Linked DNA regions of Homo sapiens: all the other regions are linked to region 2. Evidence: promoter capture Hi-C in 16 types of primary human blood cells and fetal thymus (Javierre and others, 2016). All regions are on one chromosome and are shown on one strand. Each heading gives the region's core, a stretch centred on a gene start or on the middle of the fragment in contact. The rest is flanking DNA. Distances are from core to core; before and after follow the strand shown.

The links. Contacts are between HindIII fragments. The CHiCAGO score rates a contact against its expected background, and 5 or more counts as called.
Region 1: a fragment that was not itself captured here is called in contact with the fragment with the promoter of MIR302CHG in region 2 in 1 of 17 cell types (neutrophils); the score reaches 6.3 in neutrophils.
Region 3: a contact is called between a fragment that was not itself captured here and the fragment with the promoter of MIR302CHG in region 2, in 1 of 17 cell types (neutrophils). The highest score is 5.0, in neutrophils.

What each region holds. Positions count from the first base shown.
Region 1 is chr4:112,611,625-112,615,747 of GRCh38, reverse strand. ZGRF1 (zinc finger GRF-type containing 1) reads left to right here. Exons shown (of 28, transcript NM_018392.5): 7 at 3,160-3,224. Among named protein-coding and RNA genes, the nearest start is that of ZGRF1, 23 kb to the left of the region's middle. The HindIII fragment of the contact is 5,419 bases long and covers 125-4,123 here.
Region 2 is chr4:112,648,304-112,652,422 of GRCh38, reverse strand. It overlaps MIR302CHG (miR-302/367 cluster host gene), which reads left to right and starts at 2,372. Exons shown (of 3, transcript NR_146092.1): 1 at 2,372-2,431; 2 at 3,824-3,910. LARP7 (La ribonucleoprotein 7, transcriptional regulator) reads right to left here. Exons shown (of 13, transcript NM_016648.4): 9 at 2,737-2,888; 10 at 1,841-1,962. It overlaps MIR302C (microRNA 302c), which reads left to right and starts at 3,993; the gene lies at 3,993-4,060. It overlaps MIR302B (microRNA 302b), which reads left to right and starts at 3,866; the gene lies at 3,866-3,938. RefSeq lists an enhancer at 2,830-3,552. The HindIII fragment of the contact is 6,288 bases long and covers 1-4,119 here.
Region 3 is chr4:112,591,389-112,595,683 of GRCh38, reverse strand. All of the region lies in intron 10 of ZGRF1 (zinc finger GRF-type containing 1), which reads left to right. Among named protein-coding and RNA genes, the nearest start is that of ZGRF1, 43 kb to the left of the region's middle. The HindIII fragment of the contact is 4,339 bases long and covers 50-4,295 here.

The DNA.
Region 1 (4,123 bases), core at 1,585-4,084, 37 kb after region 2:
GCAGGAGAATCATTTGAACCTGGTAGGTGGAGGTTGCAGTGAGCCGAGATCATGCCATTGTGCTCCTGGGCAACAAGAGTGAATGAAACTCCCATCTTAAAAAAAAAAAAAAAAGTAAAAAGCTTTAATGAAAAATAAATATGAGTAGATAAAGTTATGTGATACCATATAAGAATACAAAGTTCTAGCATGGAGATTTAGGGATTATAGAATTTAGTTTTGAAGGCCAGGTGTGGTGGCTCATGCCTGTAATCCCAGCACTTTGGGAGGCCGATGTGGGCGGATCACCAGAGGTCAGGAGTTCAAGATTAGCCTGGCCAACATGGTGAAACCCCATCTCTAATATATAAAAATTAGTCGGGTGTGGTGGTGGGGACCTGTAATCTAAGCTACTGGGGAGGCTGAGGCAGGAAAATAGCTTGAACCCGTGAGGCAGAAGTTGCAGTGAGTAGAGATTGTGTCACTGCACTTTAGCCTGGGTGACAGAGCAAGACTCCATCTTAAAAAAAAAAATTAGTTTTGGGAAACCAGCTGGTTTCTGTCATCAAGTTGGAAAGAAAATTAAAGTTGATTCTGATTATTTGCAGTAGTTCTGTGAAGTCACTGCAAACACATAACTAGTAATAGTAAACCTTGCTCCTATGGGAAATACAGGGTTAGGTTCCTGCAAGCCTGTGGTCAGAACATTTTCATTAATTTATGAATACGTAACCTTGTTTTATGTATGTTTCTGCTTAAAGAACCTTATTTAATATATATTGTTAATTCATTAACATTAAACTCACTCATAGCCAACAGCAATATAACTCTTACCTATAAAAAATGTACCTAACATATGCACTTTCCTCATAAGGAATATCACAGTCTTCTTGCCCTTGGGAACACTAGATAGCACTATTCTTAGGGGACTTTTTTTTTTTTGACACAGAGTCTCGCTCTGTTGCCCAGGCTGGAGTGCAGTGGCGCGATCTTGGCTCACTGCAACCTCCGCCTCCTGGGTTTAAGCAATTCTCCTACTTCAGCCTCCCAAATAGCTGGGACTACAGGCGTGTGCCACCACACCCAACTAATTTTTGTTTTTTTTTATTAGAGACGGGGTTTCGCTATGTTGGTCAGGCTGGTTTGAACTGACCTCAGGTGATCTGCCCACCTCGGCCTCCCGAAGTGCTGGGATTATAGGCGTGAGCCACTGTACCTGGCCCCTTTGGGGACATTTTAAGTAGTGAAATTACCAATAAATAGCACAAAAATGAAAAATGTGGCACTAAGCAACCATGAAAAAGATAATTGTTTACAACATAAGCTAAAACAAGAAGCCAGAGTGTTACCTTGAGAACATGCGCTTCAGGCAATTCGTTTTTTGCTGTTCTATGTATGTCTGCAAATGACCATGAAAGTATAGCAAATACTGATTTGGGGTTACAAATAAACTTTAGGGAGTAGGCAGAATCCATGAGTAATGATCGACTAAATTTGCTTTTTTGATACAAATATATTTCTCTAAAAAGGATTAAGTTGGTTGCTTGAGACAGTTTGAGAAGATTGAATCACTAGGGTATAACATACTTTTATGAAGTTTAAAGCAAAATTAGAGAAGAAGAAATTTTGCCACCAATTTAGAATGTGCGAAAGTGTTAAAACTCTAAATTTTTTGTGAGATAATTGTATATAGCTTAGAAATGTTAATTTAGAATGTTTTTCTGGAGCAAAGGCAGTAAAGGAAAACAATATCAATTTTCATCTGGTGTTTTAAAAAAACTTGTTAGAAATGTCAAGTTCCAAAATTATTTTTTATTTTATTCTGAATTTTAGCAGGAAAACAATGAAATCATAAATAGCAATTGCCTAAAAATGAAGTTTACACTAGTTATAGCTATGATTTTTTACCGTAATTATCACTTTAAAATTAGTCTTTTTGTGATTTTAGAAGAGGAGATTATTGAATATGTACTTTTTTTTAAGAAAAAAAATTTCTATTTTTAAATGGATACCTGATAAGGTGGCAAAACTAGCCACCCTGCACTCCTTTGCATTCTGCAGGCTTGCCAACTTTTCTGCTGTTTTGTATTCAGCCTTTTACCCGAACACTTTTACCCTTGTCATAGCTGAGTTTTTTCTTCATCTCAACTTAAATGTTACTTCCCATGAGAAACTTTTCCTAATTCCTGTATCAAAAATCGTTCTGTATCATATCACTGTTCAATGAGATACCCTTTTGTATCATAATCTGAATTTATCTGGTTTAGTTATTTGTTTGTCTTTTGTGTCTCTCTTTTTTCAAGGAATTTTTTTTTGTCTTGTTCACTGCTATTTCCCTAGTGCCTGGCACACTGCACTTGGAAAATAATTGTTGAGTGAATTTTTTAGAATATAGAATTTTTTTCTTAAGCCATAGTAAAAATGGATTTAAGATAGACTAGAAATAGCATGAAGTGCTGTTTTTTTTTCTTTTGTTTGAGACATGGTCTCACTCTCACCCAGGCTGGAGTGCAGTGGTGCGATCTTAGCTCACTGCAACCTCCACCTCCCGAGTTCAAGTGATTCTCCTGCCTCAGCTTCCTGAGTAGCTGGGATTATAGTTGTGCACCACCATGTCTGGTTAATTTTTGTATTTTTAGTAGAGACAAGGTCTCAGCATGTTGGCCAGGCTGGTCTTGAAATCCTGGCCTCAAGTGATCTGCCTGCCTTGGCCTCCTAAAGTGCTGGGATTACAGGCATGAGCCACCATGCCCGACTCTGTTTTTCTTTTCTGTTTGTACATAGCAACAGTATACTGGGAGTCTTGACTTTCTTTCCTAACAGTTGTCCGGTACTTCATTTTTAGCATTTTTAGTATAGGTTATTAACTATTGGGTTAGTATTTATTTTTTAATTAGTGTAAAAAAGGAGTACAAGGAAACATTCCTACTATTGACTTAGAAAGTAAACAAAAAGGCTTTCATTCTAAATATTTTAAAATTTTTATCATAAAAATGTTTTAATCTAAACAGAGAACAGTACAGTGAATCCTCAAGTGCTACATTCCAGATTGAACAATTACCAAGATTGTCTGATCTTAAAATTTAAGTTATATTCCTTGTTTTGGTTTTAGGAATAAGTTAAATTTTAGAGTACTGCTATATATAACAATGATATGATTATTTCTTTTCTCCATTACAGTGAGGAAACCATTTATTACAGTAGTTTCACCAAAGTCTCCTCATCTGCACAAGGATTCTCAACAGGTACAGGTTTTTTTTCTAAGAGTATGTTTTTTTTATTTTGATAAGAATGTTCTATAATTTGTAATAGAATTATAGTAATACAGTCCCAAGCTATCTTGGTTCATGACTCCTGCTGTATCTCAGTAATTTTTCATTGCCTTCCTCAGCCAAAAGAAATGCCTAACAGTTTCATTTATTATGTAGTTAATAGTATTAAGCAACTCAAGTATTTCCTAGTAACTTTGTAAGCATTTTGTTTGTTAAAAAACACAGTTACATGGCTGGACGTGGAGGCTCACGCCTGTAATCCCAGCACTTTGGGAGGCTGAGGCAGGCAGATCACTTGAGGTCAGGAATTCGAGACCAGCCTGGCTGATGTGGTGAAACCCCATCTCTACTAAAAACACAAAAATTAGCCAGGCATGGTGGCATGCACCTGTAATCTCAGCTACTTGGGAGGCTGAGGCAGGAGAATCACTTGAACCCAGGAGGCGGAGGTTGCAGTGAGCCGAGATCATGCCATTGCACTCCAGCCTGGGCAACAAGAGTGAGACTCCATCTCAAAAAAAAAAAACAAAACCCCACAGTTACTAATGGAATGTGTACCTCTGTTGGGCACTATACAACTTCTCAAACCTTGGAATAGATTAGGTAACACCACCTTATTTCTTGTTACACGTTGATTTTCTCATGATAATTGCTTTTTATCACAGCAGTTTCTCAGAACCCAGCTTCACAAAGGTGCAATGTCATTGAAAGAAATGTAGCAAGATCTGATGTAGAAACAGACCTGGAGTTAGTAGTTCATTAGGTGTCAGACAGATGTCAGGTGACACTGTTACCCTACATATAAAACACCTTATGGAGCTCCTGTGAGTTCATTGTGCCACCTCAGGGTACCTTGTTGCACAGTTTGGGAA
Region 2 (4,119 bases), core at 1,123-3,622:
TTTTTCACAGCAGGTTTTACAGAGTATACAATGCATTTATGCAGGAATGTTACACTAATTCCTAATTCATCAACTTCCATTCATAAAGCTAAAGAAGTAACTGGAGATTGCTAAATGGGGGGGGGGGGGAAATCTTATTTATCTTGCCTCCCTTTCGTTTTGACCTAAAATTTCAGACATAACTAATTTACATTACTTTCAGATGTTGAATTTTTAGATGTTTGAATTACGGAAAGAACTGAGCAATACCTGGAAGTATTATTTCATCATAGAATAAGAAAAGTTTATCAGTTAATAATAAAAAATATATAATAAAATCTGTGAGTTTCTAGAAGCCAGGGACTAGATCTTAACTCATCCCAACACTCAGCAACTATCACAAAACAGGCATTTAGTAACTGTTTGCCAAATTAAAAAAAAAAAAACTGCAGAGACTTACACTTGCTAGTCCTTCCCACTTCTTTACCTAGTTAATTAGTACCAAATTTAGATATAAAGCAAGTAAAAAACTCAGTATTGTTGAAATTTGAATGCATTCAGTAGTAGTAATGAGTTTTATAACTGACTTTTGAGCATATTCAATTACTACAACTCAAAAGATATATACTAAATATCCATTATAATGTCAGGCTAATCTCTTGATTTAAAACCCTTAGAATTTAAAACCCATAGAATGACAAATTAGCCTGGTAATCACATGGGCAAGTCACAGACAGTTGTAACCAACACAGCTCAGTTTTTGTTTCAGCAAAATGTAAGTAACTACTAACTGGATTAATGCAGGGATTGATTTTATGATTTTGATGATCATAAATGATGAATTTGTAATTGATAAAGTTACCCTTTAAATAACAGAAGTTATTTAATGAGTTGATTAGAAATAACTCTGAGCAATTTTTGTATTAAATGTTTTGCAATCTGATTAATCAGAGCAGTATTTACATCCCTCAATTTTCAGCTGTCTCCTGAAATGCAAGCTGGTAATAGCAATTTGGATTTGGCCAAATCCTTCACCAACATTGCAAAGAGGATCAAAATTTGTTTCTTAGTGACAGCTATAGGATTGTAGGACAGTATTTCAGATAAGGAGGGCTTACAGATAAACAAACCACCACCTCAATGGTATTCAAGTTAAAACCTGTGACTGATGAGTCTACGTAAAACCAAAACAACATACTAAGTGATGATGAATGTCAGTATAAGAAAATACTTAAAATATGTGGTATGTTACAGAGCATTTCACACTTTTTAAAAAGAAAAGGATTCACTTAAATGGGTGACAGGCAGGGTAAGGGTAAATAAGATATGGTACTCTCACCTAAAAGTATATAATTTCCCTAATAGAAAGTATTGCTACCAATGTGGTATAAAAGGCTACAGAAGATAGACTGTATAAAGCGAAAAAATTATAAACCTGTATGTACAGCAATTTGTAGCGTAAATTATATAGAAGTATGGGTTTTTTGGCACATGCGTGAAAAATTTTAAGAGGTTTTCAAAAATATTTTACTTTTCTATAATTAAAATTTTAAAGATAATCAGCACATAGGTAATACAAAAAAAATCAGTGCCAATAAAAATAAGCAAAAGTTACAATTTTCCTATAGAGAAGGATGTTTAAACTGTGCTTACATATAGATTTAGTGAGGAATTTCAGCCTCTAGATTTTGCTTCAAAATTAAACCTAAGAGTTACCATGGAATTAAAACTGTACAGTAGTTTACCATAGGGAAACAAATTCTAACTTGATTTGTTTTATCTTCCATATTCAAAACATTTTCACACAGGGAAATAATAAGAGAAGAAAGGAACAAATACCCTAGGGGCTCAAAATCATTACCCGGACTTGTTTCCTGCCAGGTAGAGGCTCTGTGCTAATGATCTTCACAATCACTCCACTCACGAACTGTGGTCCTGTTGCATTAACTTTCTCCTGGGTGCGACACTCTTCCCTGTTGGCTGCTGATTAGAAAAGGAAAAAGACCAGGACTAAATCTCTTACACTTAACAACAATTTAATACTTAGGAGGACTACCTTAGAATAATTCCTGAGGCAGATTTAAATAATTTAAAACGTATTTAATTTTAAAGTAAACAATTAAAGGTTATATGTCATACTGCTTATTTCAAAATACCATGAATAAAACTCAGAAAGTTTTATTATTCTACATGCAAATTGTTACTGCTAGAAGAGCATTCGTAAAGCCTTTAAATTTGCCCCTTCTCCCTGAACAAAGGAACAGTAAATTTTTACTCAATAAAGTTAAAAAAAAGTTAAAGGATACTGTGTTTTAAATACATTATTATTCAAACGTGAACATTTATTTTTACAAGAAATGAGAATTTAAAATGTATCCTAATTTTGAATTCATAGGAATTCTGCTTTAACTTGTTCCTGCTTGTGGTGCATACTACAGAATGAAATTAACAGGTGAGAAACTACAATCTTCATTCCTACAAACTTGCTCAGTCTGCAAACTCTGCACTCATGTGCTTGATGAAAACTGTAGAGAAAACTCAGGTTATTTAAAAAATTGTTTTAAATGAGCCTTTTAAATATTCTTATATCAAGAGTAAGTAACACATCTGGATAACTTAACAAATCAAGAATTGTTCTAATAATGAAATAGAATAATCAAGTTTTTTAAAATTAAAATTTATCTTATAACAACTCAGAGATAGCATTTACATATATAAGTACATTATAATGTTGTCAAAACTATCAGTGATCTTTACTTTTTTCATTTTTCATTCCAGTGTTTTGAGGTACTCCACTGTCTGTTTCCATTTCTGACTCTGATTTTATTTGGGATATTGTTTTTTTTAAAGAAGCCATGCTAGCTTTTTGTAGCGCTAAATACTCTTTTTTCAAATCCATCCATTCGCTCCTACAAGGAAAGAAATGGTGATAACAGATGACTAAATATAAAAAGTAAATAGGGAAATATCTAAATATATACATTCACAATGACTTGGAGCAACTCCTCCACCAACTTTCCTGTTTCTTTAAACACATATTCAAAATATTTCCTAGGTTCTAAAGACATTTAGCAAAATAAGCTAAGGGAGTTCCTCTTCCCCCAATATTCAGATTAAATGTTTTAAGATTGCCAATTAAATTTTTGAGTGTCTGAAGTATTTTAATTTATAAAAGTAAAATTTTAGCATTAATTCCTTAACTAGTAACATTTACTAAATCAGTCATCTCTGTGGGAAAAGGGCGAGATTAAAGATTTGTTAAACTGCTTCCAATTTGAGAGATAACATTCCTTAGTATTTACTTGAATCAAAAAGAATTTCTAAGTAGAACAAAACACCCCGTGGAAGCAATCTATTTATTTACATACATTTAACATGTAGATGCTTCTTCAAACAGAGTTCCTCCAGATAGAAACACAATGCCTTTCTCGGCTCAGTGGGAGCACTCATTGTTACCCTAATCTATGCCATCAAACAAGCAGATAGGAGATTTTCTTTTTCTTTTTCTTTTTTTTTTTTAAGAGGAAGATATCTTGTGGTAATGGTTTTAGCTGTTAACATTGACATCTGTATACTTCAAAAAAAAAAAAAAGGATCCAGACCCACCCAGGATCATACATTCCCTGAGAGCTGATACATTAAAATAACAAAAGGCCCTTGTAATGATTCTCTGAGATAAAAAGGCAAAAGGAATTCAAGAGTTAAGAATAGTATAAATAGAAGTGGCTGAAGTCCCTGCCTTTTACCCTTCTGGAGGAGAACACGAATCTTTGGGAACTAGTTCAGGAAGGTAAAAAAATTTTTTTCTTCTAAAGTTATGCCATTTTGTTTTCTTTCTCCTCAGCTCTAAATACTCTGAAGTCCAAAGAAGTTGTATGTTGGGTGGGCTCCCTTCAACTTTAACATGGAAGTGCTTTCTGTGACTTTAAAAGTAAGTGCTTCCATGTTTTAGTAGGAGTGAATCCAATTTACTTCTCCAAAATAGAACACGCTAACCTCATTTGAAGGGATCCCCTTTGCTTTAACATGGGGGTACCTGCTGTGTGAAACAAAAGTAAGTGCTTCCATGTTTCAGTGGAGGTGTCTCCAAGCCAGCACACCTTTTGTTACAAAATTTTTTTGTTATTGTGTTTTAAGGTT
Region 3 (4,295 bases), core at 970-3,469, 57 kb after region 2:
TTCACTTAGACTTCTAATGTTATATTTATTGAAAGAATGCTTTTAAGCTTATTTGGGCATACATATATTTTGATATATATATAAATACACACACACACACACATATATACACACAAACATATATATTTATGTTTTGTAGAGACTGGCTCTCACTATGTTGCCCAGGCTGGTCTCCTATCCTCAAGCGATCCTTTTGCCTTCGCCTTCCAAAGTGCAGGGTTTATAGACGTGAGCCACTATGCTGTGTTGGGCACAGTTTTTAATTGTATATTACACTGCTTTGTTCTCTTGCCTTTCTTTGAACATAATAATTTTTTGTTCAGGGCTAAATCATAGTATAATCTTTTGAAGACATTTAAACAGCAAAATTACTTAGAACGTGTTTGATATTAGCAATGCACAGACCAATTCATATTTAAGTGATTATTAAGATGAACAGCATGACTAATTTGCATACATTTGCACATGTACAGGCAATGACAACTATGTCACAACTGTTGCCTGTGCTATAGAGATGTAAAAATGTCATCACTTTTAAAGTGTTTCCCTATTTCAAAGACATTAAAATGTAAAAAAATGTGAGTCATAAGAATTTTATATTTTTAGTAGAGATGGGGTTTCACCATGTTGGCCAGGCTGGTCTCAAACTCCTGACCTCAGGTGATCTGCCTGCCTCAGCCTCCCAAAGTGCTAGGGATTACAGGCGTGAGCCACCGCACCTGGCCTGTGGAGTAATTTTTGTTAAAATCTAACAAAACATAGATGACTGCTTTCTTTGTCATTTAAAGATGTTTTGATCTTTGAAATATGACAGGAAACGAAACATGCATAATTATAAAGGAAGAAATAGAATTAAAATAACCAATTAAAACTTGAAAGTTTAGAAGGGATTTTAGAAAGGACCTGAAGACAAGATAAACTTGAAAAATTAGGCCAGGCGTGGTGGCTCACACCTGTAATCCCAGCACTTTGGGGGGCTGAGGTGGGCAGATCATTTGAGGTCAGGAGTTCGAGACCAGCCAGGCCAACATGGTAAAACCCCATCTCTACCAAAAATACAAAAATTAGCTGGGCGTGGTGGCATGTGCCTGTAATCCCAGCTACTTGGGAGACTGAGGCAGGAGAATCGCTTGAACCTGGGAGGTGGAGGTTGCTGTGAGCTAAGATCATGCCACTGCACTCTAGCCTGGGTGACAGAGCGAGTGTCTGTCTCAAAGAAAAAAAAAAAAAACCAAACCGAAAACAAAAAACTTAAAAAATTAATAGCTTTCCTAACCAATTAGAAAATATAGTAGAAAAAGAGTCCCAACAGTAGTAACAAATGATATTTGTTAGAAATGTGCAGGACATGTGTAAAACAGACTATGAAATTTACTGTTGAATATAAAATTTGTGAATAAATAAGAATTCAAAAGTACCTATTGAATACCTTCTGTGGGTCAGAAGACTTGTAAGACTTGGGTATAGATTGATGGACAAACCAGATATGACCTTAAAGGTCAGCAGGGGGAGGGAGATGTTAATCAGGAGAATAAACAAACAAACAAATAAATTGAGATAATTGCTATGTAGGAAATCTGTGAAAGTACTCTCAAATTATAAGGGAATCTACTTTAGAATGGGTGATTAGGCTGGGGACGGTGGCTCACACCTGTAATCTTAGCACTAAGGGAGGCCAAAGCGGGAGGATTGCTTGAGCCCAGGAGTTCAAGTGAGAACAGCCTGGGCAACAGGGAATCCCCATCTCTAAAAATTAGCCAGGTGTGGTGTCACACAACTGTAGTGCCAGCTACTCAGGAGGCGGGGGTGGGACGATCAATTGATCCTGGGAGGTTAAGGCTGTAGTGAGCTGTGAGCATTCCAGCCTGAGCAACAGAGCAAGACCTGTCTTAAAATAAATAGATAAATAAATAATAAAATGGGTGATAAAGGAGGGCTTCTCCAGCATTGGCAACAGTGAGGGACTGAACATACCATGCAAAGAAACAGCATGTGTAAATTCCCTGAGATTGAAAAGTTGAGTGAGTTTGAGGAAGTGAAAGAAGGCCAAGGTATCTGGATTGTGGTGAATGAAACAGAAAATGGTAATTAATGAGGCTGGACAGGTCAGCTGGGCCAGACATAGACATAGAGTCTTCAGGCCAGGTTCAGAATAAAATCAAAACTTTGATTTTTATTGTGCGTGCCACTGGGAAATCACTGAAGGATGCAGCATGAAGTGACATGATTCAATTTATATTTTTAAAGTTTTTGCTGGCTGCTATATAGAAGATGGCTTGGATGGACACAGTGGTAGAAGCGGAGAAACCAGTTAAGAGAATGCTTTGATGATAGTGAATTGAAGTAGGGATTGTGGCAGTGAAAGTATAGTGGAGTTGGTGGGTTTAAGACAAATCTTGGAGGTAGAATCATGGATGTTACTGGATTAAATGTAAGGAGTAGGGTGAAAGAAAGGGAGAAGAAAAACAACTGGGCAGACTGAGGCAATTTTCATTGAGTAAAGCAAGATGGGGAAGTGTATTAGTTTGCTAGGGTTGCCATAACAAAATACCACAGGCTAGATGGCTTAAACAACAGAAATTAATTTTCTCACAGTCTGAAAGCTAGAAGTCCAAGATCAAGGTTCCAGCCAATTCTGTTTCTGATGAGCCCCTCTTCATGGCTTACAGATAGCTGCCTTCTCCCTATGTCCTTACATGTCCTTTTCTTGTGTGCATTTGAAGAGAGAGAATTCTCTGTTGTCTCTCTTTGTAAGGTAACTAATTCAGTTGGGTAAGGGCCCCACTCTTATGACCTCATTTAACCCTAGTTATCTCCTAAAGGCTGTGTCTTCAAATATAATCACATTGGAGGTTAAGGCTTCAACATATACATTTTTTGTGGGTACATAATTCTCTCCATAGCAGGGAGGAGCAGGTTTGGTGAATACATAAGAATAAATAAATAATACCTGTGAAACCATCAAATAGAGATGCTAAGTAAGAAGTTGAGTACATGAGTCTGATTTAGAGGAGATATTTGTGGAGTCATTTGCACAAAGAAAAGTTTAAAGCAGTAAGAGTGGATGGGTTCATTTAAAGAGAGCATAGAGAAGAGAATGGGTTATATTTGTATCAAGAATTGGGATAGAGAGAGTTATGTGAATTATTATTGAGACATCCAATAAAATGAGGACAGAAATATGTCCATTTCATTTAGCAACTTGGAGGTCAGTGGTGACCTTGGCAAGAGCAATTTCAATGAAATAGGGTAAGAATTAGTTTAGAGTCATTTAAAAAGTGAATGAGGCCTGGCGTGGTGGCTGACACCTGTAATCTTAGCACTTTGGGAGGCCGAGTCAGGTGGATCACCTGAGGTCAGAAGTTTGACACCAGCCTGGCCAACATGGTGAAACCCCGTCTCTACTAAAAGCACAAAAATTAGCCTGGGGTGGTGGCACACGCCTGTAGTCCCAGCTACTCAGGAGCCTGAGGCACGAGAATTGCTTGTACTTGGGAGTTAGAGGTTGCAGTGAGCTGAGATCACGCCACTGCACTCCAGCCTGGGCAACACAGTGAGACTTGATCTCAAAAAAAAAAAAAAAAAAAGAATGAATGAGAGGTAAGAAAATGGAGACCATGTATGTAGCAAACTCCTTAAAATGAGTGTATTTATTTAATCAGTCACTCATTTGACAAATATTTCTTGAGCAATGCCTGTTATGTTACACTGTTCTTGGTCTAGAGATAGGCTTGTGAATAAAGCAGGCATGATCTTTCCCTCATAGAACTTACATTCTAGTTAAAGGAGACAGAAAATAAATAAATATACAGCACCTCAGAGTGTCTTAAGTGCTCTGAAGAATGACACTGGTATGTAGGGGGATAGGGAGTGCACATGGGAGTGGAGTTCTATTTTAGGCAAGGTAAGCCTCTCTGATAAGATGACACTGGAGTCGAGATCTGAATGAAGAGAGGGAGAAAGGCATGCAGATATCTAGGGGAAAGGCATTCCAGGCACAGGGAATAGCAAGAGCAAAGGTTTTGGGGCAGAAGAATGATGGCTGGTGTGTAAAACAGCAAGGAGGCTGCCATGGAGTGAGTGAGTGAGGGGGAGGGTGATAGGCAGTGAGGTTAAACAGGAGGTAAGGGGCTGATGAGGTAGGGCTGCATAGGACTTTGTAAGAGCTGCCTCATACTTTAAGAGAGATTGGGAGCCATTGGAGGGTTTTGATCAGAGGAATGAAATAATCGAACTTACATTTTAGAAAGTACTCTGGCAAGTTTCTGGAGAGGGTAGTAGGGGAACAGAGCGGA